Regions from separate parts of the Homo sapiens genome. Here region 1 is linked to region 2. Evidence: promoter capture Hi-C in 16 types of primary human blood cells and fetal thymus (Javierre and others, 2016). All regions are on one chromosome and are shown on one strand. Each heading gives the region's core, a stretch centred on a gene start or on the middle of the fragment in contact. The rest is flanking DNA. Distances are from core to core; before and after follow the strand shown.

Evidence for each region. Contacts are between HindIII fragments. The CHiCAGO score rates a contact against its expected background, and 5 or more counts as called.
Region 1: the fragment with the promoter of DPH6 here is called in contact with the fragment with the promoter of RSL24D1 in region 2 in 4 of 17 cell types (total CD4 T cells, total B cells, non-activated CD4 T cells and 1 more); the score reaches 9.3 in total CD4 T cells.

What each region holds. Positions count from the first base shown.
Region 1 is chr15:35,541,920-35,549,136 of GRCh38, forward strand. It overlaps DPH6 (diphthamine biosynthesis 6), which reads right to left and starts at 4,246. Exons shown (of 9, transcript NM_080650.4): 1 at 4,200-4,246; 2 at 494-588. The coding sequence starts at 4,222. It overlaps DPH6-DT (DPH6 divergent transcript), which reads left to right and starts at 4,276. Exons shown (of 3, transcript NR_038251.1): 1 at 4,276-4,554. RefSeq lists enhancers at 3,247-4,181, 6,169-6,463, 6,232-6,988 and silencers at 4,229-4,368, 4,669-4,718. The HindIII fragment of the contact is 1,793 bases long and covers 3,017-4,809 here.
Region 2 is chr15:55,194,804-55,201,530 of GRCh38, forward strand. It overlaps RSL24D1 (ribosomal L24 domain containing 1), which reads right to left and starts at 2,138. Exons shown (of 6, transcript NM_016304.3): 1 at 2,007-2,138. The coding sequence starts at 2,087. RefSeq lists enhancers at 1,258-2,149, 1,943-2,102. The HindIII fragment of the contact is 1,416 bases long and covers 2,124-3,539 here.

The DNA of each region.
Region 1 (7,217 bases), core at 2,996-5,495, about 20 Mb before region 2:
TCTCAAGTCTCACATTTCTGGCTTACATCTAAAATAGGTAAACTGTATCCTTTTAATAATAAAATTAATATATCATTTATCAATATGTGTCTTACTTCTCAAGCTCCTTGAGGCCTGAGACTGTATCTTATCTACCTCTATGCTGCCTACAGTACTTGGGAATGTGGTGGGGTAAAATGGTAGTGTACTTTGAAGTAAGAAGGTTCAAGTCTTAACTCTACAAGTTTGTGCTAGTTTACTTCAGACAAACTCTAAGCTTCAGGATCCCTGTCTATTAAGATTAATAGTGCATCTCTATAGAAGTTGGTTATGAGAATTAAAAAGTAAGTGAAAACACTTAATGCTAAGTTCTAGGTGGAAACTAGCATCTAATGGGTGCTTAATATTTATTGGTTCTTTTTTTTTCATCTTTGTACGGTATACCTGTACAATGTAATTATGAAGTTGGAATTTCATTCATTTAGGCAACTTCCCAATAAAGGCATGTACTTACCTTGGTTTTCAGCTGGTCTTAGATTTGCTAAAGCAACGATCTGATGCCCAGCAGCAATGCACTGCATCATATTATAGCAGCTGTCCTTCCCACCACTAAACAATAAATCAAGAGAGGGACAAATATCATGCTACTGACCATTATTCAACATAAAATCACTAGATATCAAAACAGAACATATCATTTACTTGACTCTTCAGAATATATTACAATGCAAAAAAAACCCATTAATTTCTAAATCATAAACAAACTGAGCAACCGAATCTGAATGTCTAGGGCTGCTACTCACAGGAGCTTAAGAAACTATATATATATAAGAATATTCTAAACAAAATATGGTAACTTTTTGCTTTGTGATAGCAAATATATTTGAAGTGATTTGCAAATAGAAAATGATTTCAATTTACATCCCAGCTAAACATTTATTATATAATTATATATGAAATATATATATTCTACCTAAGGAATATATATAATAATATATATTATTCCACTTAAGGAATATATATAATATATATTATTCCACTTAAGGAATATATATATATATATATATAAAATAATTTCATAGAAATTATTGGGAAAAAAAAAACTATTCTCTATGAGAAAGTAAAAAAAAAAACAAATTCTGCTCCACCATAAGAAATCTAACAAATGGCTACCATCAGCAATTAAAGGATCAAATTAAAGATTTGAGTACCTAGCTAATGACAAAGTTTGACACACTTGGTGGGTTCAAATTCTGCAGAGATAAAAAACAAGATGCTGACTTACACTGATGACGTGAAACATCAGCACTATCAGCACTTCAGCCATCTCTACACATACATATAGTACACACATACACATAATATATATATATATATATATATATATATATATATATATATATATGATGGCAGCAGAACTAGGCTTGAGCTATAAATGTAGTAACACATTGAAAGGAACTTCTAAATTCTGGTTCTAAATCTACCTAAGGCAGACGCATATCACTTAGTAAAGACAAGCAGTAGCTCATCTATAATATGGCTGAATGGCAATCTATATGCTATTGTAATTTAATATTCTCCTAATTCCCACTATCATTTATCATTGCCTCTCTCCCTTTTACATTTCTTTTTCCTCCTGTTTCCCTTCTTTCCAATATTTGCTTAAGGCCTGCAAATCCCCAGGCAATGTTTAGACCTCTTCATAGCTCAAGAAACTGAGCACCTCAGAAACTGGCCTTGTTGCCTTTTATCTTAGTTTTCAACATTTCTGCCTCTTCCACCCTCCCATCAATAACAACTCTCATTCCAAAACTTCTCAAGTGGAAGGAGAGCACAAGGGCCAAAGTGAAGTTTTAAAAAGTCCATTCTTCCTCTCTTCAGGTTCGGTATCCCCATAAGTAGGTCTTCCACAACTTCCCATATCGAACCTTACTGCTCTGATTCCCCAGGATAAAAAGATATGACTAATTGTTTCAGATATTAAAGACTGAAGGGTGTGCATCCAGAATCAGAACTGAGTCTGACAATTTATTTTGAAATATGCCAACATTTCAAATATGGTTTTAAGCAGTATTTACCAAACTGTGTTCTGTGGAACACTGGTGTCCAACAAAATACTAACCAATTACTCTAACAAAAGGTTTTGAATATCAGACAAGCTTGGGAAATGCAGAGTACCTTACTGTCCTCTTAGAACTCCATTAAGTACACATGTATGTTAGGTGAGAGGTCTCACAGCTCTATTTTAGTTTCCAACTCTGGGATACTAAGCTAAGTTATTCAATGTGCTTAGGTTTGCATACTTCATTGCAAATTAATGAATGGTCTGCCTGGATAATCCTCAAAATAACATTCAACTATAAAATTCAAAGACTCATTTATTTATTAGAAAAATAATGTTCTATGAGAGCATATGGACACAGGGAGGGGCACATCACACACTGGGGCCTGTGGGGGTTTGGGGGTTAGGGGAGGGATAACATTAGGAGAAATACCTAATGTAGGTGATGGGTTGATGGGTGCAGCAAACCACCGTGGCACATGTATACCTATGTAAAAAAACTGCACGTTCTGCACATGTAACCCAGAACTTAAAGTATAATAAAAAAAAAATTTAAAAAAGGAAAATAATCTTCTTAGAAAGATATGTAAGAATCCCAGTTTCACTTATTCACTTATAATACATAATTATATATAATGCATATATATAGAATACATAGGCATCTGTATCATAAGCATACAGGTAAATGCTTACGTATTCATACTTACAGCATATGTCCTTACAGCTCTTACGCTTCAGCAAGAATTTTCCAACATTGCTTTTTTAGCAAACTTTTTTTATTATAAAGCAACATATGCACATTACAGGTTATTTAGTGTAACTGACTCTACCAATCTTCTCTCCTCCCCTCCAATACTTCTAAGTCTTTGTTTGTTGTGCTTTACTTTAATCGTTAAACTTTTGGCAAGCGATGTAAATTTGAATTATTCACTTCCTGGGGTACTTTTAATTCTTAAAATAAGACACAATGGTTAAAGCTTAATCATTTATGTTACAGAGGACATTTACTGAACAACAATAATTATTGTGACATTATGGTCTAGTCTCCTAAAAATGACATTGAAGGAAAGGGAACCGGAATATTCCAGACACTACAGTAGGTCTGAAATCTCATATCAAGTCCTTAATAGGTCAAAACTTACAGCCAGTATCAATTACCTAAGGGACTTAACGAAAACGTTTATGAAATCTTCAATTGGATTACAAAAGCAAGCACATCGTTGCACTGTATCTAAGACACTCTACAGGGCAAAATCTCATGAAACAAGTATTTAAGTAGTCTAACTTTTTAATGTTGCTAGTGTGTTCCCTTCTGCCTCAGTTTATAGATTGAGTATGGAAATATTTAAGCAGGTTTGTTTTTGGTTTGTCAGTCACAGGACTTATTTAGACACTTAAATTTATGATTTGGTTACTACAGACATCAAACTCCTTTTGGAATACGGAGTATAGGGTAAGGTCACTCTAAAGCAATGATGAGAGTCCGAAGCAACAGCAACTGGATCTAGCATAAGACTAGTACAATTCGGTCTCTACCACGAAGAGAGATCTCTGTACTTGAGTGCCCAAAGGCAGAAACACACACATGCCATAAGCAATCCACATCTGTGAAGATGAGGGAGGGGTGGACTTCTTGGGATGGGCGGAAACACTTACAACTAGGGAGGAAGCCAGGCTGCGGCGGACCCAGCTGACCAAAGGAACTACAGAAGAGGACGAAGAAAGCGAGGGGGAAAGGGCGAGGGTTATTAACTGAGTTGATGGAATAAGGTAGTGGCTCCAAACTTCACGGCTCATTAGAGCTTGAAAAAAAAAAATCAGACGCCGGGTCGCACAGAAGTAATTAAACCAATCCCTCTGGCGGTGGGGCCCAGGCGTCGGTACTTTTTTTAATTTCCCACTTGAATCCAATGGGAATCCAAGTTTAAGGGCTAGAAGACCAGAGAGCGACAGACAGGGAGGAGGCGCGCCAGCCAGGGGCCGAGGCACATGCGGGCCGGCAACAGCGAAGGCTCCGCCTCTTCCTGTGGCTCGGAGGAGCCGCGGAACCCCCAACGCGCGACTCAGACGGAGACACCCACTCTTTCGGCGCTAGCGGCGGCTGGAAGGGACGAGAGCCTGGCCTAGGAGGAAGGAGGCGGCTCCAGGACCGCATTACCTGATCAGAGCCGCGACCCTCATGCTGGGCGCAGTGCGCGTGCGTGCGGCGAGCGCGGGCGGGAGCCAGGAGGTCGCGCCGCAGCTCGCGTGACGCACCGCGGGGCCTCGCCCGGGTGTTCGCTCCGCCGCCTGTCCGCGGATCGGCGCTGCGAGCCCCGCGGCTGCCTGCGGGACACCTGAGCGCGGAGGGTGCGGCACCTTGGCACCTTGACCCTGTGGCAGGGACATCTCGGCCCAGGAAAGAATGAGGTTTAGGCACGGCCTAACCACCTAAGTGAGGGCACTGAAGCTGCCGGGGGAAGGGCAAGGTCCGCGTTGCAGAGCCCAAGCCCAGTGGCGCAGGATTTGTTTTGGTAAGAGGGGATTTAGCGTCCCAATTGCTGCAAATTGACACAGTTGCGGACGTGCAAGCGCAGAAGAAATTTGTCCTTCCTCACCCCACAGAACAGAAACAACTGTACACTTCTGCTTTTTAACTTACATCTCCTCTGTCCTCCAAACCTGTGTGTCCAGATGTGAAACTCAGATCCCCAGGGGCTGTGGTAATTTTTAAATCTGGGGCTAGCCCCCCCCACCTCTAGGCCCTCTGTGGCTTTGGCTCTTGGTCAAGCTTGTGTATTTGACAAGGCCAGGCCAGGCTCTTCACCAAAGAGCAATGGCCTTGCAGAAAGAAAATCTAGCTTCTAAGTTTATTTGCCAAGTATGTATTGAGTGCCTTTCGTGTACCAGGCACTGTTTTAGACTCTGTGGATACAACCGTAAATAAAACAAAAACCCGGCATTCCGGGCATAGAGCTTAAATGGGGATGGAGAGAACAGACAATACATATCTTAAAGGTAAATAGTCTGTTGAAGAGTGAAAAGTGCTATTGGAAAGGGGCGGGGTGCGGTGGGGGAGAGTCAGGAGAGAGGTGGAGAGGCAAATTGCAGAATTAAATCGTGTCTATGTAGGCCTTATTGGTAAGATGAGAGTTGAGCCAATTTAAATAAGGAGAGTTCGCTATGTGTATGATTGGGGTGTGCTCCAGACAAGAAAAAAAAATCGAAGGCTCTAGGTGCGTTGTGTGTTTGTGGAAGATTAAGGCAGATCCGTGTTGCTGGAGCAGATTGAGCAAAGCAGAGAGTAGTGGAGAGCAGGTTAAGGTGATGGAGGGGAAGGATTATATAGGGTCTTGTAGGTAATTGCAGACTTTTGAAGGGTGTGACTTAAAATTTTAAAAGGATTGCAGTGTTGAGAATCCACCTATTAGGAAGCTGTTACAGTGTTCCAGTAGAGAGATGGCGGAGCCTAGAATCAACATGGTGAATTTGGTGAGAAGTAAGAGGATTCCAGCTCTATTTTGAAGATAGAGCCAATAGAATCAAATTCGATATGGGATACAAGAGAAAGAAAGTCATGAGGGATGATGCCAAAGGCATGAATTAAGTAAGTTAATATATGTAGGGAACTTAAAATTATGCCAGGTACATAGTAAGCATTCAATTTTATTTTGACATTCTCAACTCTAATAGTAGGGGTGACTAGAGCAGTGACAGTCTACATATCAGTTTTAGCGTCTAGAATCATACAGCTTTAAGATTTTGCAGTTATGAATATTTACCAAATGAGTCAAGTATTTAAGAAGTTTGCAGTCTAATTGGAGGAGATAAATACGTGAAACACACTTAAAATGATACAGCTCCAATGAGTGGAAGAAGCACCAGGGCTCTCGTCTCATGCCGAATTGGGTAAAATGACACAGACACACATGGAGTGGTTTTAAGGGGTGGAGAATTTAATAGGCAAGAAAGAAGGGTGAAGAAAGGAAGAAGCTCCCCTGTAGAGACACATGGAAGTGGGCTCCAAAGCCTAGAGAGGAAACCCCCAGTGCTGGGGTTAACAGGCAGTTATATGAGGAGACTGGAAGAGGCGGTGTCAGATTTGCATAGGGCTCAGGGGATTGGTTTGACCAGGCATGTCATTCACATAGCCCACGAAAAACCTGGCTCTCCCACCCTAGCCTTTTAATATGCAAATGCAGGTCGCCTTGATGTTCTACACGTGTGGCGATATGTGGGGATGGCCATGTTGCCAGACACATACAGGGGCAAGGGCAAGAGGACAGCGGTGGCTATCGCCATGTTTGTGTGGACCCAGTTTCTAATGGCCTGCATTTGCATATCAAAGGTCGCCAGCCGGGCTCTAAGAGCAGGGGCTTTCCTGCTAGACAAGAAACATTTCTGGAGCTGCTTTAAAAGAGACAAAAACTTTCCAAGGACCCCTTTTCCTATCTGCCTAAAATTATTTTTTTAATAAATCCTATAACAGTAATCCAAGATAACACATTTTGAAAGTAACAAGTTATGTAATGTGTATGGCAAGAGTCCCATGAGTCAAACTCACAGGGTAATGGCTGGAATGAGGATGGGACTTGAAAGATGAGTAGAATTGAACAGGAATGGGCGGAACTTCCAAACAAAGCAAGGCAAGAATGAGCGTGGTGTGTTGAACAACAGGGGGTAGACTAGCTTGACTAATTTGGAAGGTATATGGGAAAGAAGAAAAAATAAGTTGAATAAATAGGATGAGGCCAGTTTATCCAGGGTCATGGAAAACCAAAATGAGGAATTTCAAAATAAGGCAGGTTACTGTGGCTACTTGACATCATTTTTCAGGAGATTGTGTGAAATAGCAGTAATGAACATGATGAATGATTTTGATAAAATAGGCACTCCCAAAGATGCCAATGGATTATCTTTTCCACCAAGGGATATCTTTTCCTTGCCACTTCCCAGGAGGGATAAAGAGAGAAGATTCTAAGGCTACCTTCCTAAAACTACATCTTTAGGATTATTTTTTTGTTTCTCTTTGCGCTCTGTAGGCTTCATTTTAAGACATCCTCAACAAACAGGTTTATTACAGTGTGTATATCCTGGCATTAAACTGTATGTTAGGAAATATGTTGAGGCCGTTCTCCAAGGTCACCCAGTTTTTAGCTTGATGGTGTTGCTTTCCCCACTCGATTCTTTCTAGCAC
Region 2 (6,727 bases), core at 888-3,387:
ACACACACACACACACACACACACACACACACACAATGTTAATCTCCCCGTCTCTACAAAAAATTTTTTTGATATTGGGCATGGTGGTGCACACCTGTAGTCCCAGCTACTCAGCATGCTGAGGAGGGAGGACTGCTTAAGTACAGGAGACTGAGGCTGCAGAGAGCCATGATCACACATCTGCACTCCAGCCTGGGCAATAGACAGTGAGACCCTGTCTCAAAAAAAAAAAAAAAAAAAAAGGCTAGATAAGAGGCTATAAAAGTGGTAAGAGCCTAATCTGAACTAGGACAGGAAAGTAGAAAGAAGGCAAAGACACCACTATCTTTGCAGAGGCAGGATAGGTAAGACTTGATAACTAGATACAAAAGGTGAAAAGATTCAGACGACTCTCATGTTTCTAGCAAAACTATCCGGGCACTTAAGAGTGGTATTAATTCACAGAGCAAAAAGATCTGAGGTACTAAGGAATTCTCTTTCAGTAGGCCCACTGTACCTACTGTTAGGTACATCCAATGGAAAATTCAGATTTGGAGCTCAGGAGATTTAGGTTTGGAAATCAAGCATAAAAAAAGATGAGATACTTGTTCTTTGTTAGTGCTTCAGGCCCTCTATCTTTTATTTCCTCCAACAACTCTCTTCTGGATCCACTGGTGACTCCCAACCAACTCAACACTGTCCTTATTCTTCATCAACTTAACTTCCACTGTGTCTACCAAATCAATACCCAGGTCTTGACAGTTCTCACGATCTGTTGTTCTAATTCCAATATCCAGCCGACAAGCATCCTGGACGAAAATCACAAAATCGTAACGACATCATGTATAAAACCATACTGCCTACTCTGAATTAGACCCCAACCTGGCAATCTTTTGGTTCATTTTTATAAACTTCTTATCATGTTCCTGAGAGCAAGTATTCAAAATCTTCTAGGTTCTTTTACGTTATCAAACATGGCTTTGGTCCGTCACTTTCAGCTGAATCCCTTGGATCTAATTAATGAGGTCAATATCTTTGATCTGTTACAGAGATATAAGGTGAAGAAGTCAGACTTGTAATTATTTAGCACGTCAAATTCACCTTAATATACAGATTCTTAGACCCTCTTCCCCTCCCCCAAAGATTCCAACTCAATAGATCTGGTGAAAACCAGGAATCTGTAAACGCCCAGTAATTCAGAAGCAAACGTAAGAGATCAAATTCTGAGAAACAATGTGTTTCTCTGAGAAAGAGAGGAACGGGATTCATTCTGTAATGACAGGACAAATTCATGTACCATTCAAAACGTCTTTCACAACTAGGACTCATATTTATTATTTACGTTTACAGACTTATTATACTTGTAGCCCTACGCCCAAGGCTCTATCATCATTTACAATCCAGTCACTTCCTCAAACAAATGTATTTGCTCCGTTCTCTGCCTTTTCTCAAAATGTTCACTTTCCTTCCACTTAGAAGGCCCCCTCCGCTTTCTTCCGCAAAATTCAGGATCCAAGATAAATATCACCTCTATGCTGAGTCTTTCCGTACAGGACCCTCCCCAACTCACCTGCAGTAACTTAATACATAACTCTACCATTAAGCAATACGGAACACTTCCATCAACCTCTACACTTTAGTATGGACCTTAGTGTAATGCCTGACAGGGTATACACTCAACAAAGTTTACTGGATTCAAGAATTTGGCCCAAGTACATGAGTGGCCAAACAGCCCTCACAGACATCCAAGATTCCTGGTAGGCGCTAGCTGGGATCGCTCCTGAAGTTCCTCGCTGCCAACGCCACCCAAGGGTGGCGTGGTGGCCAGCGCCGCTCGGAAGACGGGCAAGGAGAAACCCCCGAAGCGGAACGTTGAGAACGGAGGCCCAGTTAAGCCACCCTCCCAGGGGAACAACGGGAGGAACCCGGGCCAAACACGGCAGACGCAGAAGCACCCAGCACCGAGCCGCCGCGCCCAGGAACCGCGGGAGCTAGGCTGAAGCAAGAACTGGTGTCGACCGCCTTACCTTGCAATCGTTGCGGACGAACATCATGCCGTGTCCAGGATAGATGGGCCCCGAACAGAAATAACACTTTTCGATACGCATGTTGAACCCGCGTGTAACCCCACCAAACAAACGCCAAGCTTGAGAGGAAGTGATGCAACCCCGTCACCGGAAGTTACCTTCTTCCCCCTTCCCCGACCGGAAAAAGGCAAGCGTCCTTCGTTCTCGCGGGTCTGTTAGACCAGATGCGAACACGACTGTGCCTCCGGCGGCCGTGTGGTCAAATGCGCTGCCGTTTGACGCAGGCGCAGAGCTGCAGACTAGACCTGTTCGCTGTTACTTTGGGGAAATGTGGTTCTGCGCCACCTTGTGAACTTGCTCTCACAGCGCCTAGTTTTTTCTCTCTGTGTGTCGGCATTTATGCAAGTATTATGTATCTTTGGTTTGTGCTTTGCCTCGGAGTGCTCTCGAGAGCACTCTCTTAACTCATTTGTCTACTGCCTGCCCTAGACCAGCCCTCGATTCTCGTCCCACAGTGATTTGCAGGGTGTAAGCGGCGAAGACCCTGCAATCCAGCGTTGCTTCGAACATTGCAATGAAAACGGTTGAGTTGCTGATGCTCCAAGGACTTTACCAGCAATTTTTTTAAATATAAAATCGTGTTATCCGCCTCCCCCCCATTTTAATTAATATGCATATGTAGTAAACAAATATTTTCGCCGGAAACTACGACTCCCTCCCTAGACCTGCGGTCTTCCTCCCCAGGGGCAAAACAGTTCCATTTATTACCTGCCAGAGCTTTTCTGTGCATAGGCAAACATGTATATTTGTGTGTTTGCCTGTCTCTACGTCCTCTTCTTTATAATACTAGTTAATATGCTATTTACTCTTTTCTGCATCTTGCTGTTACCTTGTATCCCTTCATTGGAATGTGAGCTCCATGAGGGGCAGGGATTTCAGTTCGTTTGGTTTACAACTACATCCCAGTATCTAGAACAGTCCCTGGCACATAATAGGCATTTGATACATATTTTACTGTAAAAGGGTATTTAACATTCTTTTTCATATATATATGCCATTGTATGAAAGTATTTTAATTGGTCACTAATCGATGGGCATTCTTATCTTTTGATATAATAAGTATCTGTTGGTACGCTTTTTCAGGAGAGGGTTTATGTAGAACTGCTGGATCAGAGGAGCTGGATATAGATAAATAGTTTTAAAATTTGGCAGATAATACTAAATTGCCTTCCAAAAGTTTTTACCAATTAACACTCAGCATCAACAAATAAGATGTCTGTTTCACTACCCCGCTGTGAAAAGTGATCTTTGCCAACCTGAGATGAAAATTTATCTTATTATTATTTCAACTTGAATTTAATTACAAATGATGTTAAGAATCTTTCACAATGTTTTTCAGCTTTTTTCTGTGAATTGCCTGTTCAGGTCCTACGCAGTTTTCTATTCTTTCGTTGATTTTCAACAGCACTTTACACGTTAAGGTTAGTCCTTTGCTGACATGCATTTAGAAATTATTTCCCTATCAATGTTTTAAGCTTTGCTCATGGTATTTTTCCATGCAGAAATATGTTGTTTATATATTCAGATTTATCCAATTTTTTTATGATTTTGGATTTGGTACTTTCCTTTAAACTGCACTTCTCACTCCAAAATTGTTTTTCAAAATGTTTTCTCTTATGTTTTGTAGTTTCATTTTTTTGCATTTGAATTTTCAACTCGTCTGGAATTTAAGTATAAATGACATAAGACTCCAGTGTCTTTCCCTCAGTGCTGTATGTTGATAAAGCATCCTTTCCCCCACTCACTCATAATGTCACATCTATGGCTCCATTTCTGGACTCAGTTCCATCGTTTTATTTGTTAATGTGCCACTGCCCAAATATTTAAATTATTGTCATTTTTTGAATAACTGGGTTTACCTCCTCTCCCTTTCTATTAGTTTTCATGCTGCTGATAAAGACATACCCTAGACTAGGCAATTTATACAGGAAAGAGGTTTAATGGACTCTTTATGGCTGGGGACACCTCACAATCACAGCAGAAGCCGAGGAGGAGCAAGTCAGGTCTTACATGGATGGCAGCAGGCAAAGAGAATGAAAACCAAATGAAAGGCGAAACCCCTTTAAAATAATCAGATCTCGTGAGACTTATGCACTATCATGAGAACAGTGTAGGGGAAACTGGCCCCATGATTCAATTATCTCCCACCAAGTCCCTCCCACAACACATAGGAATTATGGGAGCTATAATTCAAGATGAGATTTGGGTGGGGACACAGCCAAACCATATCACCCTTCCTTCCTTGTCCTTCTTATTCATTTTTTATCTGGCTATTCTTCAACATTTATCTTTTCATTTTAACTCTAGAATCAGTTTGTATAGTTATAATCTTCAAATACACACATTTTTCCTTTTATTGGATACTTTTTCTTGTCTAGTCATTCGACCAGTAATTCCAGAGTAATGTTAAATAACAAAGGCACATACCAGAAATTTTAGTAATAAACATCTGCCCAATACTTTATTGTCAACCAAGAGACTGAAAATTATTTTACTTTTCTTTACTCTTCCTCTCCTATCCTCCTCAACAATTATGGAAGAGCCTCACCAATCTTTGCAAACTTTACACAGTTCCTTCCCAACTCTGTTTGTTCCTACTACTTCACCAAGAAATTTTATACCCTTCCCATATACATGAACACCCAGGTTTACCCTCTTACCTTTGATGTCAGAGGCCACATCATTTATCTGTGTTCTTAATTTCATACCTTAAGGCTTCATCTGAGACTTTGTTCCCTTCAGTCCATGAACATATTCAGTGCTTCACTTTAGAATGAGTGTGTGTATAGCCAGCCTTAGAAATTGTTTTTTTCTTTCCATCTATTTTAATGGAATACAAGATTGAACTGAAATCTTGGAAATATGATTCCATTTATCCTTCTTAGGATTTATGATTCCTAAATCTAAGGGTATGTGTCTTTTATCATTACTGGAAAATTCTCAGCTATTATCTTTTCATATAGTGCCTCTTCCTTCAGTTTCTCTAATTTCTCCTCATAGAATTCCTACTAGATATAAGTTGGAGCTTTTTTTCTTCCCTCTGTGTCTTTTAACCCCTCCAGGACTTTCTCCTTATCTCTGTCTGCTGAATTATGGGTAATTTCCTCTGACCTGCCTTCTAGAATTTCCTCTTCAACTCTGTCAAACCTGTCATTTAACCTCTAACCATTAAGTTTTGAATATCAATGGCTGTATTTTTCACTGTTGGAAGTTTTTGTTTTTTTGTTTTTTTTTTAATTCAAACCAGTCTGTTATCTTTAATATTGTCTTCTTTTCTGGATTTTTTAGTTCCTTTCATGTTTGTGATTATCTTAAACACTTTGACTTTATGGTCTGCTTCTGATAAGTATATTATTTGAGGTTCTTAAATGCCAAATCCTGCTGGCTGTTTGGTCTGCTGGCCCTTGCTAATGACTGGAGGTAAGAATGAAGAAGAAATAGATTGTAATTTTTCATTGTAATCTCATCCATAGTAGGGTGTTTTTTGGCCTGTGCAGAAATTCCATCTGTAAACATTTTTGCTTTGCTTCCACCAAGTAATCCAGAACAAATCCCTTCTTTAAAATGTTAATTTTTGTTAATTTCTTGATTGAACATACCCAGAAAAATTAGGTATTATACACTTTAACCTTAAACCTGTGTTCAAGCCGACTTGTAGTTGTAAATTTTCACAAGAGATTAAAGGCATAGACTAGGTTGGCCAGGCACGGTGGCTCACGCCTGTAATCCCAGCACTTTGGGAGGCCAAGGTGGGTGGATCACAAGGTCAGGAGTTCAAGAGCAGCCTGGACAAGATGGTGAAACCCCATCTCTATTAGAAATACAAAAATTAGCCGAGTGTGGTGGTGGGTGCCTGTAATCCCATCTACTCGGGAGGCTGAGGCAGAGAATTGCTTGAACCCGGGAGGCAGAGGTTGCAGTGAGCCAAGATCGCACCACTGCACTCCAGCCTGGGCGACAGAGCAAGACTCCATCTCAAAAAGAAGAATAAGAAAAAAAAAAAAACCATAGAGCAGGTCCTGGATTTCTGTGTGTTTGGGGACAGAGGGCTGCAGTTTCATCACCCTATTCTCAACAGGCCCAAGGTTTTCTTTACTAATTCTTTGTAGCCATTATAACAAAGCATCCTGATTACCGATACTGGCAAAACCAAACCAAAAGCAAACCACAATCAGCATCAGGTTGTTTTAAGTTCCATCTGTTGTCTGTTTTTAAGGGGAAGGAGGTGGTCTTAGGGCATTGCCCATATTTTTTTGAGAAATCATCGGTACATTTTTAAAAAATATGTTCATACTTTATCCAGCATTATCTAAGTATCTTATAATGGAAGAGCTTATTAGTTTTATAAATACCTATATTACCAATAACAGAAGAGCTGGAAATACCACCATAGAGATTTCCAATTTATAAAAATACCAAGTGAAACATGTCTTAAATAGATTGTTAGCCATCTTGACATCAACTTCAAAAGATCAGAAATTATCTCTCAGATTTCTTAATTTTTTTTTTTTTTTGAGATGAAGTCTTGCTTCGTCACCCAGGCTGGAGTTCAGTGGCGTGATCTCGGCTCATTGCAACCTCTGCCTCCCGGGTTCAAGCGATTCTCCTGCCTCAGCCTCCCCAGTAGCTGGGATTACAGGAATGAACCACCACGCCCAGCT